Linked DNA regions of Homo sapiens: all the other regions are linked to region 1. Evidence: promoter capture Hi-C in 16 types of primary human blood cells and fetal thymus (Javierre and others, 2016). All regions are on one chromosome and are shown on one strand. Each heading gives the region's core, a stretch centred on a gene start or on the middle of the fragment in contact. The rest is flanking DNA. Distances are from core to core; before and after follow the strand shown. Region 1 holds the start of MMP14 (matrix metallopeptidase 14). Region 2 has its middle 26 kb from the start of TRD-AS1. Region 3 overlaps DAD1 (defender against cell death 1). Region 4 has its middle 20 kb from the start of LINC02332.

Region 1 (3,643 bases), core at 206-2,705:
CCAAAGAGTTTTCTCCGGGGTGGGACCAAGGAGGAGAAGCCAAACCCATATCCCATCCCCCTTCTAGGGCCCTTCCTGGCCCCTCCCAACCGCACCCAGGCCCTTGCCAGGCTGAGTGGGTTGAGATGGCCCAAAATAAGAAGCTCATTAAATCCGTCTCCCACCTTCACCCCAAAATAAGAGAGAGAGAGGAAAAACCTCCTCAGACAACTCCCACGCAGCTTCCTCTGGGGCCCGGTGGGCCACCGTCTGGGCCGGGGTGAGGGTGGGGGGCGCCCGAGCCAGCCCCGACGTGAGGGCACCCCGGACCAGACCCTCTCCCCATTCCCCAAGCGACGCCCCCAGGCTCCCTGCAATTAACACAGAAAAACTATTAACAACAAAAAGGGCCTGAAGGCGCCGACGCGGGTGGGGATAGGGGGAGGCAGCGACCCGGCCGATCGCCCGGCTCACAAGGAGAGCTTTGTGTGTACGGAAACGCGGCCAGCGCGCCGGCGCTGCGACCCTCGACGCCAGGGATGCGGGTAGGGACACAGCGGGGTCCTCTCGGGGAGACGGGGGCTGTGGCCCTGGACGCTCGGCCGTCCACCCTCGACCCCCACCTGGCCGCAGACTCGTCCGCTGAAGGCCTGGGCCACCCGGGGAGGCCGAAGCGCCCATCGGAGGGCGCGCCGGCGGGAGAGCGCTGGAGAGCTGGGAAGTCGAAGAAACAACAAACTCTCGCGCATGACGAGGAGCCGGGACAGCGCGGGGTTTGAGCGGAGTCCAAATGTTTATCAGGCGGTTCCAGAGCTGAGAGCAGAGCCCAAGGGAATCGGGGAAGGGGGAGTTCGCCCCAGTTGTAAAGTTCTTCCAAGGACTGGGAAAAAAGAAGGAATGGGAAGGAGAGTCGGCGGCGCAGGGGGTGGGGGCAGCTGGTTGGAAGCGGGCAAAAGTTGGATCGATCTGGAAGTTTGGAGACGAAGAGGAAAAAGAAAGGGAGGGGGAATCCTGCAGGCCTGAGCAGCGGAGATCCCAAAAGCCCTCCTCTCCGAATAGAGGCTGTCCCCTAGGAGACCCCCGGGCTCGCCTCCCGGCGGGCGCGACTCCGGGAAGGGCCGGGAAGCTCACTTACTTCGGGGCTGAAGCTGCTGCTTTGGGCCGAGCCGAGGGAGGCGAGCGCGGTGCCGAGCGTGAGCAGGGGGAGCAGGAGACAACGGGGGGGTCTTGGGGCGGGAGACATGGTCCGAGACCACCGGGTCAGCCGGGCAGTGTGGGCTCCGCGGCCGGGCCCACGCCCTGGGGTCGCACCGCCACTCCCTCGGGGCGCCTTTGTCTTCGGTAGGCACTGAACTTGAATTCCTAGACCGCTGTCGGCTTGGAGTTAAAGGGGATTGTTCCTCAAAGTGCCTGTTTGCTCTTCTCCTCTTTTCCGGTTTTTGATCTTTCTTCTGCTTAGTCGGCGAACTGGGGTCTGGTTCCCTCTCTCGCTCTCTCCTCTGGTCCCTCCCTTCTCCCACAGCCTCTCCTCCGTCCCCGCCCCAGTGCCCTCCTTTCCTGGTTGGGGACGTGGTTGTTTTAGCCTGAATCCAATTACAACCAAGAACTGGAAGGAAAAAAAAAAAAAACACCTCTAAGTTGCCTTTTTGTGGTGCAGGCTGCCATCTGCAGGGGTTGAGGCCGCGATGGACAGCAGGGGGCTGTAGGGGGATCCAGGGGACGGGATGTGGGAGACTTTGTCCCTATAAGCATATTCTGAGTGGCTTGATTCCTCTGGTATTCAGCATTTGTCTCACCTCAGGGTGGGAATTATTGGGGGCTATGTGGCTAGGGGCAACGAGGAGCTCAGAGTGTGGGATGGTGGTGGGGTCTTCTTCCATGCCCATGAGACCTGCAGAGGGAGAAGGGGCCAGTTTACTAATAGGGGGTTATCTTCTGGGCCCTGTAGACAACTGTCTATGTCCCTCCCTCTGCTGCTAAAAAATCCAAACTATAACCCAACTACCAACAACAAACCCCACAACCATACCGGATCTGTGGCTCCAACCTTTGTAGAAAGACAAAGGTGATTCCTTTATTGTCATTTGTAATGTGGCTGCACCTTTAATTGGAACTCGCTGGGAGGAAAAGGGTACAAGGCCGTGGGATCTGGGGGAAAGCAAATCAAGTTGGGTGAAATTATTGTAAAAGAAGGGATTGGGAGTTGGGACTCTGGGGTTTAGTTCCACCTCTACACTGAAAAAGGAGGCAATTCTTAAAGAGTTATAATCTCCTTTAGGGACTTACTGGACTCAGAACAAAAGGTGGAGGTATGTAGGGAAGGGAGAGGGCAGGATAAAGCTGACCGTGAGAAAGGGAGACAGATGAGTTGGGAACTAGACAGGTCTGGAAAAGAAGCACAACAGAAGCAGGAAAAGTGTGGGAGACAGAAAACTAGACTATCAGCGAAATCTAAGATCCAAGAATTGCATTTGGCCAGTGAGAGAGGACAGAGGTAGTGCGAGGAGGAAGGGAGAAGAAAGCAAAGGAAGGAATAGAGGAGGGTGGACAGAAATTAGGTCAGGTAGGAAGCTCCAGAAATCCTAGGGATGCACTTCTGTGGCAGAAGAATAGAAGTCTAGTGCTCAGTATTGTAATGAAAACAAAGGTCTTTTGCCCTCAGATTCATGATCAATAAAATGAAAAGCTTTTCAGGTCCTGTGGAGCCTCCAGGTTTGTGGGAGGTATATGGTGTGTGTTATTAAACAGCTACCTACCCCACAGTGACTGAGGGCTGAGCCCTTATGTAGGGCTTTCCTACACAAGCTGGGGTTGGGAGGTACAGGCCCCTCTTCAACCAATCTCTGGAATGCATTCAGAACCATGGAGACCTCAGGACCCCACTCTCGGCAGAACACGCAACACCCAGGTATGATTCTTCCCACATCAGCCTTCCCAGTGGGGGTAACCTCCTGGACCACATATCTGAATCTTAGGAAGACTGACACCAGATGCTTGCCAAAAAAGGGACCTTGGCTAGAAAATCTTTTTCATGAAAACATTTATTAGATGCCAGCTGTACATGGCCTAAACTGTGCATGAGCTGTTAAAGGCTTGACTGCCTGGCCAAAACTGGGAAAACTGCTGTCCCCTTTTCACGTTCACAGAACAGCTATTTCTCATAGTTGGGCTAGTCCTATGGCCTGCAAAGGAGGTAAATTTTTTTTTTTTTTTGAGACGGAGTCTCGCCCTGTCGCCCAGGTTGGAGTGCAATGGTGTGACCTTGGCTCACTGCAACCTCTACCTCCCGAGTTTAAGCGATTCTCCTGCCTCAGCCTCCTGAGTAGCTGGGATTACAAGCGCACCCCACCACGCCCGGCTAATTGTTTGTATCTTTAGTAGGGACAGGGTTTCACCATGTTGACCAGGCTGGGTTGGCCAGGCTGGTCTCGAACTCCTGATCTTGTGATCTGCCCGCCTCAGCCTCCCAAAGTGCTGGGATTACAGGCGTGAGCCACCGCACCCAGCTAGGAGGTAAAAATTTTAAAGCAAGACTTAGCTGAACTGGAATGGAACCAGAGATGAGAGTACTAAGCCAAGCCTCCCAGGCAGTGATCTAACAGCTTGTTCTTGGTGTCCCAGCTCTTTTTCTCTGAAGACAGATGGGGAACGTGAAGGCTATCTT
Region 2 (3,285 bases), core at 625-3,124, 330 kb after region 1:
GCATCCCAGACAGTGATACCATGTCACTAACTTTCTTGGTTAAAAGTAAGGCTTACGTAATAGAAATTTAAGCTTGGAGAGAGAAGAAGTCCCCAACATGACTGTAACTTGTTGATTCTTTATATTTCAAGAGGAAGTGTTCAAAACTGATCTCATTTCTCTCCTTTCATCCTGGGAGCAGTGGGTGTCCAGAGCAAACAAAAAGAACTTATTCTAGAGAAAACAAAAGGGAAGCAAACGTAGGAAATAGAGTGACAGATACGTGGATCACAGTTCTAGTACTGAGCTAAGTTACCCTTAGCCTTCTCTTTCCCCTCCCTGACCCCTGGGAGTTAGGCCTGCCTGACTTCTCAGCACTCTTCCCAAGGATGGCTCTGGAGTCTCTTTTGGAAGAGAAATAAAAACATGGCCTATAGAAGAAGGCATTTGGACCGGCAGACACATAATTGTATAAATAGGTTAGGAGAGATTGTATTTGCACAGGTAAACGTATGTTCAGGGTCAATGAATAACTGGGAAACTGGGTTCACAGAAGCATAAAGCCTGCAGCATTTAGTTGAGAACAATTTGATTTTCTCAACTAAATTTTCCCACAGTAGTCTTTTTCTCCCCTGGGGTTTATCATAAAATTAGCATGTTTCCCCTCCCCTGACTGTGGTGTGCCATCCAGGAGAATGGGAATTTTGACAGCCTGCTATATCACGGCAGATAAGAGATGACAGCAGTGAACAAAGTCAACCTTCAGCCATCCTTTCCACCTAAGGGTGGCTGTCGCTTCCTACTTGCCATGGACACAGAATCCACCTGACACATGCCACTACTTACGTACTTGGCTGGACAGCAAGCAGAGTGCCAGTTCCAAAGATGAGCTTGTTTGTAGCACCACCATAATTCACACAGTCCTTCAGAGCCTTACACTAACCCTCAAGGAGGGGCACGGCAGGTTGGGATGAGGACAGCTTTGTGTCTTTCCAGGCTTAGAACACCTCAGTCCCAGTGTAGCAAAAGCTGACTTGCAGGCATCGCTGCAGCCTTCATATTCCTCTGACAGTGCCCTGACACTGTCATTTAAGTTACATCCCAAGGCCCAGAACCCTGAGTGACTCCAGCAAGTGACCGAGAGCTTTGCAGGCATCTGCTCTCCACGTGGGACAGCAGCCTGAGGCAAGGATGTCAGGAGAGCTGCAGACTTGGCTATTTTTCACCTTTGAACATTTTACCGTCTTTGGCTGTGTGACCCTTTCCTTTTTCTCTGAATTTGCTCTTCCAATGGAATGAGGCTGGTTCTGCCCTTGGCAAAGAGTTTTAACCATATCAGAGGGAATTAGATATTCCCTAACAACCTGGCTCTGCTCTCTTAGAGGGCTACTTAAGCATTATTCATTCCGGAAGCTACTAGACCAAACAAAAGAGTTAGCGGCTGACATGCTTCTCACTGGGAGTGGAGACCCCATTTGGGTTGAGTGCATTGTCTCCAGCAGGCTGACTTGTTCTTAAAAATATAATCTGCATGCTACACTTTGTGCATTATTCAACTAGTGTCTCCTCTCCCGTGCAGTCACATCTCTGAGACTTACCTGGCTTTATAATTAGCTTGGTCCCAGCGCCCCAGATTAACTGATAGTTGCTATCCACACAGACACAAAAACCTTAACAAAAACCTTCACTGTCCTTCCGGGGATCCTATTAGAGACAAAGCCCAGACAAAAAGTCTAGAGCAAAGCACATAAAACAATGAAACAACATAGGAATATTGGCTATTGGAGATTATTTGCTCATTTAATTACATTTGATTAAATCGAATGACTAAACATCCAAAGTCAATCTAGGTCTCTCTGCATACAAGGGAAGCATAATTCAGAAACAGTTTTCAAATTGGAGAAGTTGAACTTGCTTCACCTTCCCTGATATTTTAAATAAAAATGCAAAAGAGGGAAACAGATCATTTGTTTAGAGTCATAATGCATCTGACGCTCTAGTGCCTTCTTTTCACTGCTGGTAAGATTTTACTCAGTACCATGGTGTTCACATATAGGTTAAATTGTTCACATATAGATTAATTGGTTTATAGAAGGTTCTGCAGCTATAGGTGCTAAAGGCCCCTACAGAGCTCGGAGTTGGTAAGGGTGGCCTGCAGTGCTGTGAGAACGTTCCTGTTTATAGAAAACACCTTTTAAGGCTGGGCGCAGTGGCCTGTAATCTTTGGCAGGCCGAGGCAGGCAGATCACTTGAGGTCAGGAGTTCAAGACCAGCCTGGCCAACATGGTGAAACACTGTTTCTACTAAAAATACAAAAATTAGCCAGGCGTGGTGGTAGGTGCCTGTAATCCCAGCTACTCGGGAGGCTGAGACAGGAGAATCGCTTGAACCCGGGAGGTGGAGGTTGTAGTGAGCCGAGATCATGCCACTGCACTCCAGCCTGCGCAACAAAGAGCAAAACTTCATTTAAAAAAAAAAGAAAAAGAAAAAGAAAACACCTTTTCAAAATGGCTCCTTGGTTTCTAGTACTTACTTGGAAAGACTTGTAATCTGGTCCCAGTCCCAAAGATGAGCTTGTCGGTGTTATAAGACACAGTGATACTGAGATCTACAAAAACCTCCTAAGCCCCTCTGCTCTTCCCTGTCACTGGCACCAAATGACTATCAATAGCAAAGGAGATTTGGGGATACATTTAAAACACCAAAGCAATCAAACAGTCAGTTTTTGTTTCAGTCAAGTTTCATGTTCTGAAAATGCCTATGGCCTGTGCTTATTATGTTTTCAATGCATTAAGTGACAGCTCAAGACAGTTCACTGTAAGAAAATAGGGAATCTCAAGCTCTAATCCCAGTTATGATTTTTTTTTGGTTTGACTTAAATTATTTAACTTGTCTGTGTGTCAGCTTTTCTGTCTGTGACATATGTTTGATGATGTATGATCCTGTTTACCTTATTAGAGAACGTTGTGAAGATAAAAGGGCTGGGGATGGTGCAGTGGGTTACAGCATTGAAATGCATTGTGAATGATGTGGGGAAAATATGATGGTTCAAGTCAAGATATTATTAACATGAATAGTAGGGACTATGCTAGCTGAAGTTTATTGTCAAAATGATAACCACAAAACTTTCTTAGTAAAAACTGAAGGAGAATATATCTGTCTTGTGTGTTTTTCCACAAGAAAGTTAGTGGAAATAACCACTTAATCTGCCAGAAGAGACAGGCATGGAAAAGGTCAGCTGGATTCTGAAGTCTGACTGCCAGGGGAGAAGAAGAAATGACTGTCCTCCCACAGCAGTGAGTGAAC
Region 3 (3,637 bases), core at 1,098-3,597, 260 kb after region 1:
TTTCCTTTAACAGAGTGCGAAATTTAATTGTACAACTTGATAAATTTTTAAATGTACCTGTCTAACCACTATCCAGATCAAGATGCAGGACATTACCAGCACCATAGATGCCTCCTTGCATCTTCCCAGTTATCCTCTCCCTGTGAAAGATAAAAACCACTATCTTGCCATAGATTGGTTTTACCAAGTTTTAAGCTTTTTGTACATGGAATCATATAGCATATACTTTTTTGTTTTGTTTTGTTTTGAGACGGAGTCTCTCTTGCCCAGGCTGGAGTGCAGTGGCGCAATCTCGGCTCACTGCAACCTCCACCTCCTGAGTTTAAGCAAATTCTCCTGCCTCAGCCTCCTGAGTAGCTGGGATTACAGGTGCGTGCCACCATGCCCAGCTAATTTCTGTAGTTTTTATTAGAGATGGGGTTTCCCCATGTTGGCCAGGCTGGTCTTGAACTCCTGACCTTAGGTGATCCACCCACCTTGGCCTCCCAAAGTGCGGGGATTACAGGAGTGAGCCACCGTGCCTGGCCCTTGTTTTATTTTTTAATTTTTTTTTTTTTAGATGGAGTTTCGCTCTTGTTGCCCATGCTAGAGTGCAATGGCACGATCTTGGCTCACCTCCACCTCCACCTCCACCAATTCTCCTGCCTCATTGCCTCAGCCTGCCAAGCAACTGGGATCACAGGCATGCGCCACCATGCCCGGCTAATTTTGTATTTTTAGTAGACAAGGGGTTTCTCCATGTTGGTCAGGCTGGTCTTGAACTCCCGACCTCAGGTGATCCGCCTGCCTCGGCCTCCCAAAGTGCTGGGATTACAGGCGTGAGCCACCGTGCCCGGCCTTTTTTTTGTTTGTTTTTGGTCAAGATAAAACATGACAAAATTTACCATTTTAACCATTTTTAAGTGTATAGTTCTGTGGCATTAAGTACATGTACATTGTTGTAAAATCATCATCACTATCCATATCCAGAACTTTTTTGTCTTCCGCAACTGAAATTCAGTTCCCATTAAACAGTAACTCCTCATCCTCCTCTCTGTCAGTCCCTGGCATCTACCATTCCACTTTCTGTTTCTAGGAGTTTGACTACTCTTGATGTCATATAAGTGAAACCACATGGTATTTGTCCCTTTGTCATGGCTTATGTCACTTAAAATAATGTCCTCAAGATTCAGCCGTGTTGTAGCAGGTATCAGAATTTCCTTCCTTTTAAGGCTGAGTATTCCATTGTATGTATACATCACACTTTGCTTATCCGTTCTTCTGCTGACACTTGGGCTGCTCTCACCTTTTGGCTATTGTGACTAATGCTGCTATGAACATGGGTATGCAAATATTGCTTGAGAGCCTGGTTCCATCCCCCACCCTCCCAACCTCCCAGATGGAGTTTCTCTCTTGTCACCTAGGCTGGAGTGGGACGGAGTGATGTCGGCTCACTGCAGCCTCCACCTCCTGGGTTCAAGCGATTCTTCTGCCTCAGCTTCCCTAGTAGCTGGGATTACAGGCGCCTACCACCACGCCCAGCTAATTTTTGTATTTTTAGTAGAGACGGGGTTTCACCATGTTGGCCAGGCTGGTCTCGAACTCCTGACCTCGGGTGATCCGCCTGGTTCAGCCTCCCAAAGTGCTGGGATTGCAGGTGTGAACCACTGTGCCTGGCCGAGATCCTGCTTTCACTTCTTTTGGATATGTACCCAGAAGTGGAATTGCTGGATTATATGATATGGCAATTCTGTTTTTAATTTTTTTGAGGAAACGCAGTACTGTTTTTCACACTGGCTACCCTATTTGATTTTCCCACTTGTTAGTGCACAAGGGTTTCAGTTTCTCTGCATTCTTGCCAACTCTTGTTTTTTTGATACTAGACATCCTAATAGATGTGAGGTGATATCTCGTTGTAATTTTGATTTGTATTGCCCTAGTGATTAATGATGTTGAGCATCTTTTCATATGCTTGTTGGCCATTCCTATATCTTCTTTGGGGAAATGTCTATTCAAGTCCTTTGCCCATTTTAAAATCTGGTTATTATTTTGTTGTTAATTGCATTGTAGGGGTACTTTAATATATTCTGATATTAACCCTTTATCAGATAAGTGATTTGCAAATATTTTTCCCCATTCCGTAGGTGCCTTTTCACTGTTGTGCCCTTTATTGTACCTTTATCACAGAAGTTTTAAACTTTGATATAGTCCAATTTATCTATTTTTACTTTGTTGACTGTACTTTTGGTGTCATATCCAATAAATCATTGCTAAATCCAATGCCATAAAACTTTTGCTCTGTTTTCTTCTAAGAGTTTTTTAGTTTTTGGTCTTTATCCATTTCGGATTTAGGTCTTTGATCCGTTTCGAGTTAATTTTTGTAGTATATGGTATAAGGTAAGGGTCCAGCTTCATTCTTTTGCCTATGGATATCCAGTTTTCCCAGCATCGTTGGTTGAGAAGACTGTTTCCCCATTGAGTGGTTTTGTCAGTTTGGTTGAAAATCATTTGATTTTGTATACGAGGGTTTTTGTGTGTTTCTTAAAAAACAAAGCAATTAAATTGATTCATTTTTTAACTGTAGTAAATGTATTTTTAAAATAAACTTATAATGGAAAACCTGAATCATTATCCCTAAATAGAAGGTCACACTAAAAATACCATGGAGCTAGGCAGATGTGTTCACCCGTGCCTGTGGTCCCAGCTGCTCAGGAGGCTGAGGTGGGAGGATCGCTTGGGTTCCAGTCCGGCCTGGGCAGCACCACCAGACCCTGTCTCCTGCCGAGTTCTCAGTGGCTCTGTGTGGCTGCATCCCAGAATATTCCTCATCTAATTGAGGGGGTACATTTGTTCCCCCAGCATATACACTTAGGCTCTGCCCTGTGGTCTCTGTGTGGGAGCTGGGCTTTTTTGTCTTTGGCTTCCTCTGGGTACCTGCCAGGTTCCAGCTGGTTTGGCCAGCCAGTGTGTATTTTTTAAGTTTTGTCCGGGCACGGTGGCTCATGCCTGTAATCCCAGCACTTTGGGAAGCCGAGGCAGGTGGATCACAAGGTCAGGAGTTCGAGACCAGCCTGGTCAGCATGGTGAAACCCCGTCTCTACTAAAAATACAAAAAATTAGCCGGGCATGGTGGCGCATGCCTGTAGTCCCGGCTACTTGGGAGGCTGAGGCAGGAGAATTGCTTGAACCCAGCAGGTGGAGATTGCAGTGAGCCGAGATCATGCCACTGCATTCCAGCCTGGGTGACGGAGCGAGACTCTGTCCCCGACTCCCCAAAAAATAAAGTTTTTGATTGTGTTGCCCAACTTACTTGTGCAATTCATCCATTTTTGTGTATAGCAGAAGTTCTTTTTCATTGCAGTATAATATTCTATTGTTTGTATATGCTATAATTTATCCATTTTACTGTTGATAGACATTAGATTGTTTCCAGTTTGGGGCTATCTGGGTATCATTTCTGTGTATGCCCTTTGATGTATATATGCATTCATTTCTGTTAGAGTAGAATTGTTGGGTCCTCGGGTATGTCTGTGTTCATTAGCATATTTATTTTATACTTCTATATAATCATTTTTTTGTGTTTTGCTTCTTGTGCAGTTTGCCTGAGAATACAGATCAACCCACAGAACAAAGCGGATTTCCAAGGCATCTCCCCAGA
Region 4 (3,760 bases), core at 301-2,800, 300 kb after region 1:
GCCCCATGGTATTGGGCAACATCCTGGGAAACCCTCCTGAATACTCTCTGAGTTGTAGAAAGTCTCCTACTGCTGTCCTTAGAGCCCCCGAGTGCTGGAGCCCAGGGGCGGGAGCCAGGGGCTGGGGACTGGAGAGCTCTTTGGCCCCCGTGTACCCAGGGGAAAATACCACCTTCCCATCAGCAGAGAAGCAGGGCAGCAACTCCCCATGTCTGCTCCCAGCACCCCAATACAAACACCACACTCTGCTTGCTTGGGGCAGACATTCTGAGGGTCTGGCTCTGCTACTCTTTAGTCAGATGCAAGGAGCTTCTGAAAGTGCTGCGAGGACAGAGAGCAAAGGAAATTTTATGTGACGTTTTTCCTGAAGCTGTTCTGACCTCCTTTTCTCAGAGTGCTCCTTGTTCTCTTTTCCTTTCCAGAGCTCTTTGGCACTTCCCACTCCTAGTCTTCTTCCTATGGGAGACCCTGGGGTTGGATTTCTGCATATCCCTGTTTGAGGCAACACTAAATCCAAGCAGGATTTAGGCACTTCCTGTGATTTGTGCTTTCATCCTTCCCTCTTTACCACCTAGAATTAGGCCAAGGCATCCAAAGCCCTTGGATTCCTTTATTTCTAATGACCTTGACTCAGACAAGGCCCTGCCTCTGTGAAACCCTACAATTACAGAGAAAAAAGTCACAATAATTTCCATAGAATTTTTGAAAGATGGGAGGAAACAGAGACCATGCTGTCTACTTCAGAGATATGAAAACTGAGGCTCAGGGAGGTCATGGCCTGCGCCACAGTCCTGAGCTGGGGCAGGAACTCAGTACTTGGTTCCCTAGCAGGTGGGCACTGTCAACACTCAGCTTATCTCACACTGGGTTTGAGGGTCACTTAGCAAAGAGCTGTGTGGCTCCACCAAACTCAGGGTGGGAGTAAAGGGCTGGGGCCCCTCCACTGCTGTGCACTGACCATCAGCACGGTCTTGGACAGATGCTAGACCCTGGCATCAGGTCCCTCTGCAACATGAGCAAGATGTCCCCACGGTCCCCTCCAGCTCTCACTTTTGTGGTCCTTTGTTCAATCTGAAATCCAGCCTCAGGGAAGATCAGGGGCAGCTTACATGAGAATGGGAGTGTGGTCAGTGGAGATGCAGAGAAGGGGAGAGTGAAAGAAACCAGGGACAGGCAAAGATTTGGGACAGTGGCCGCCTAAGGTTCTTCGATATAGCACTGATGAATGGCATGTCCTTCCCCCGCTCCCATGGAAATATGATAAGAGGCTCTCCAGCACAGGGTAGGGATGGGGGTGGCTGTGGCCATTTGTGCAGGAGGATCCCAGCTCACTTACTTGGTATGACCACCACTTGGTTCCCCTTCCCAAAAGCGAGTCTGTTGTTCCCATAGTCACACTGTGTAAGTGTATTACAAAAACCTCCTGGTTTTGCCCACCCCTTCTCTGAAGACACATCCCCTTCACAGTAGCTCTAAGATCTGGAAACCCTGAAAGGCGGATGCTAAAGTTTTCCTTGTAATGGGTGGTATGAAGACTTGAAGGAACCTCCCTAAAGGGTATAAACAGCACCAGACCCCACTGCTACCTGTTGGCCTTCATTTTCCTCATCACAGCTATCAATAAACACAGCTTTGGCTATTTCTCCTTTGGGAAAAACAGAATCTTCATAAAACTTCATGAAAAACATTGTATCCTACATAGGCTGGATGGGTGTGAGTATTTCTAAAGATACCAGAGAGCAGGCGGGCATTTTCCTACTTCATCTGCCATGCCTGAGAAGAAGGTACCATTTTCCTAGTGACATGTGCAAAAATGTATTTTTCACCTTGCCATAAATGCACACTGTGCTGGAGCACATGCTAAAGACATGCCTCGGCATGACTCAGAGTCACTCCATCCTCTTGGGGCTGAGTGAGAGTCTTGGGTGACTCACGCCTGACTCATTCCTGTTTCTGTCCTCACCCCCGCTCAAGGATGCTAACTGCCAAGGGGGCTTTTGTCCTCAAGAAAGTCAAAGATCTCAGCACAGAACAGACTCAATTCCGTTTCCAGAAACATATTTGGGGGAATCATGTGTGTTCTCTGCCAAAGAATGCGGCTGTGCATGGTCATACCTGTCCTGTCTCCAGCCCTCAGGAAACCCACCCCCCTATCTTGGCACATACACATATAAATTGTTGTTAGACTTTTTATTATGAGTGCTTAGTTTCTCTGATAAGACTGGAAGTTCTTGAGATCAGAAGCCTAAGATAGCTTAGGGTTTTAAAAATTCTTTTCTTTGTTTCTTTCTTTTAAAACCAATGATGATTCCCTGGTTTGTTGATGATACTCAATAATCATTTACTGAATTGAACTGACTTTTACTGTGCATAATTATTGGGACAGGGAGGCCAGTTTTGGGAGAGGTTAAAAGCTAAGTATACTCTGGGTAAATGTGAGCTGCAAAATCTAAGTGCTTAGGCAAGGAAAAACCAAGGAAGCATTTCTAAGAGAGATAATAAGAAGGCGGTATAAAAACCAAAACATCGTGAGGTTCATATGACCCTCAGCAGAGAGGTGGGAACTGACGAACAAATAAGAAACTTGACTCAAAGGAAATTCAAATATTTCCCTCCTGATATCTTGACAATAATTCTCCTTAAAGGTAAAAATAATAATATGGCAGAAAATGTATATTTGAAATTAGCAGCATTGTTATGATTAATAAGAACAAAATAGTAGTAATAATAATCTATTATAGACCAGAATAATTATATCCATATATGCCCAATATTGAGGATAGGGCTACACATTTCTGCAGATTTGACTTACTTGGACTGACCAGAAGTCAGGTGCCAGTTCCAAATACAAGTTTCTGAAAGCCTGTGTTCACACTCTGACATAACTCTGTACAAAATGGGACCCTGTCACTGGGCCATAGCCTAGGATTGCCAAGTCACATGCAAGTTAGTTACTAAGGGTGTTTCTATGTCTGCATGCATGTACCAAAGTGGTAGGAGGCATCTAATCTTACTATTTAACCTTAATTTTCCTAAGACCATTGGAAGATGACAACAAATCAGATAGAACCCAACTGAAGATTCTGCTTTGTATACCTTGGGTTATATAAAAATGTCACTAATATTCAAGTTAAAAAAGTTATTAATATAATTACAGAGTTTCAGTTCTAGATAGGACCTAGGGAAGTTTTATCCATCCACACTTAACTGTTTGTTATTATACATGTTTCTTGCAAGAGTGATGCCCATGGATACTGTACAGTGCAACATTATTATTGCCAATGTATCTTCTAATTTAACTGGCAGACAAAACTATGTCCCCTTCCCCCTAAAAAGAAAAAAATCAATGAAAACAGATGTTCTTCAACTGTAATATAAATCAGGTTATTTCATGGAACTTACTTGCTTTAACAAATAGTCTTGTTCCTGCTCCAAAGATAGTTTTGAAGCCTCCAGTATTTCCCACAGTGATTTGCACTGCGACAAAATGGGCCATTTCCTTCTCCTTCCATTTTTACACCACAGCTGGGGAGCAGGTCTAGGGAGCCTATACTAAGGTGCTAGTAATAAGGAGGACATTTTTATACTCCCCTTGTAAAACCTATTTGTTTTTCCTGTTTATGAGCATAACTCACACTTCCTACCTATCAGAAGTTTAGTTCACCAAACAGCAGTCACAGAATATGGCCCCAGGACCAGGATCTCCAGGTTCTAGTCCCAGCCCTAGTTCGCACTGACCTTAGACAATTCAGCCAACCTC

What was found. The method cuts DNA at HindIII sites, captures the fragments that hold promoters and counts their contacts. A CHiCAGO score of 5 or more calls a contact.
Region 2: a contact is called between a fragment that was not itself captured here and the fragment with the promoter of MMP14 in region 1, in 1 of 17 cell types (total B cells). The highest score is 6.0, in total B cells.
Region 3: a contact is called between a fragment that was not itself captured here and the fragment with the promoter of MMP14 in region 1, in 14 of 17 cell types (neutrophils, naive B cells, total B cells and 11 more). The highest score is 19.7, in neutrophils.
Region 4: a contact is called between a fragment that was not itself captured here and the fragment with the promoter of MMP14 in region 1, in 1 of 17 cell types (neutrophils). The highest score is 5.3, in neutrophils.

The regions. Positions count from the first base shown.
Region 1 is chr14:22,834,397-22,838,039 of GRCh38, reverse strand. MMP14 (matrix metallopeptidase 14) reads right to left here and starts at 1,455. Exons shown (of 10, transcript NM_004995.4): 1 at 1,115-1,455. The coding sequence starts at 1,222. It overlaps MRPL52 (mitochondrial ribosomal protein L52), which reads right to left. Exons shown (of 5, transcript NM_180982.3): 5 at 3,003-3,643. RefSeq lists a silencer at 1,581-1,797. The HindIII fragment of the contact is 13,873 bases long and covers 1-2,667 here.
Region 2 is chr14:22,506,951-22,510,235 of GRCh38, reverse strand. It overlaps TRA, TRAJ34, TRAJ33 and TRAJ32. Among named protein-coding and RNA genes, the nearest start is that of TRD-AS1, 26 kb to the right of the region's middle. RefSeq lists enhancers at 117-466, 1,197-1,276. The HindIII fragment of the contact is 3,599 bases long and covers 75-3,285 here.
Region 3 is chr14:22,575,173-22,578,809 of GRCh38, reverse strand. DAD1 (defender against cell death 1) reads left to right here. Exons shown (of 3, transcript NM_001344.4): 2 at 3,577-3,637. Among named protein-coding and RNA genes, the nearest start is that of DAD1, 12 kb to the left of the region's middle. The HindIII fragment of the contact is 4,300 bases long and covers 198-3,637 here.
Region 4 is chr14:22,535,257-22,539,016 of GRCh38, reverse strand. It overlaps TRA, TRAJ9, TRAJ8 and TRAJ7. Among named protein-coding and RNA genes, the nearest start is that of LINC02332, 20 kb to the left of the region's middle. RefSeq lists an enhancer at 1,671-2,140. The HindIII fragment of the contact is 8,118 bases long and covers 1-3,760 here.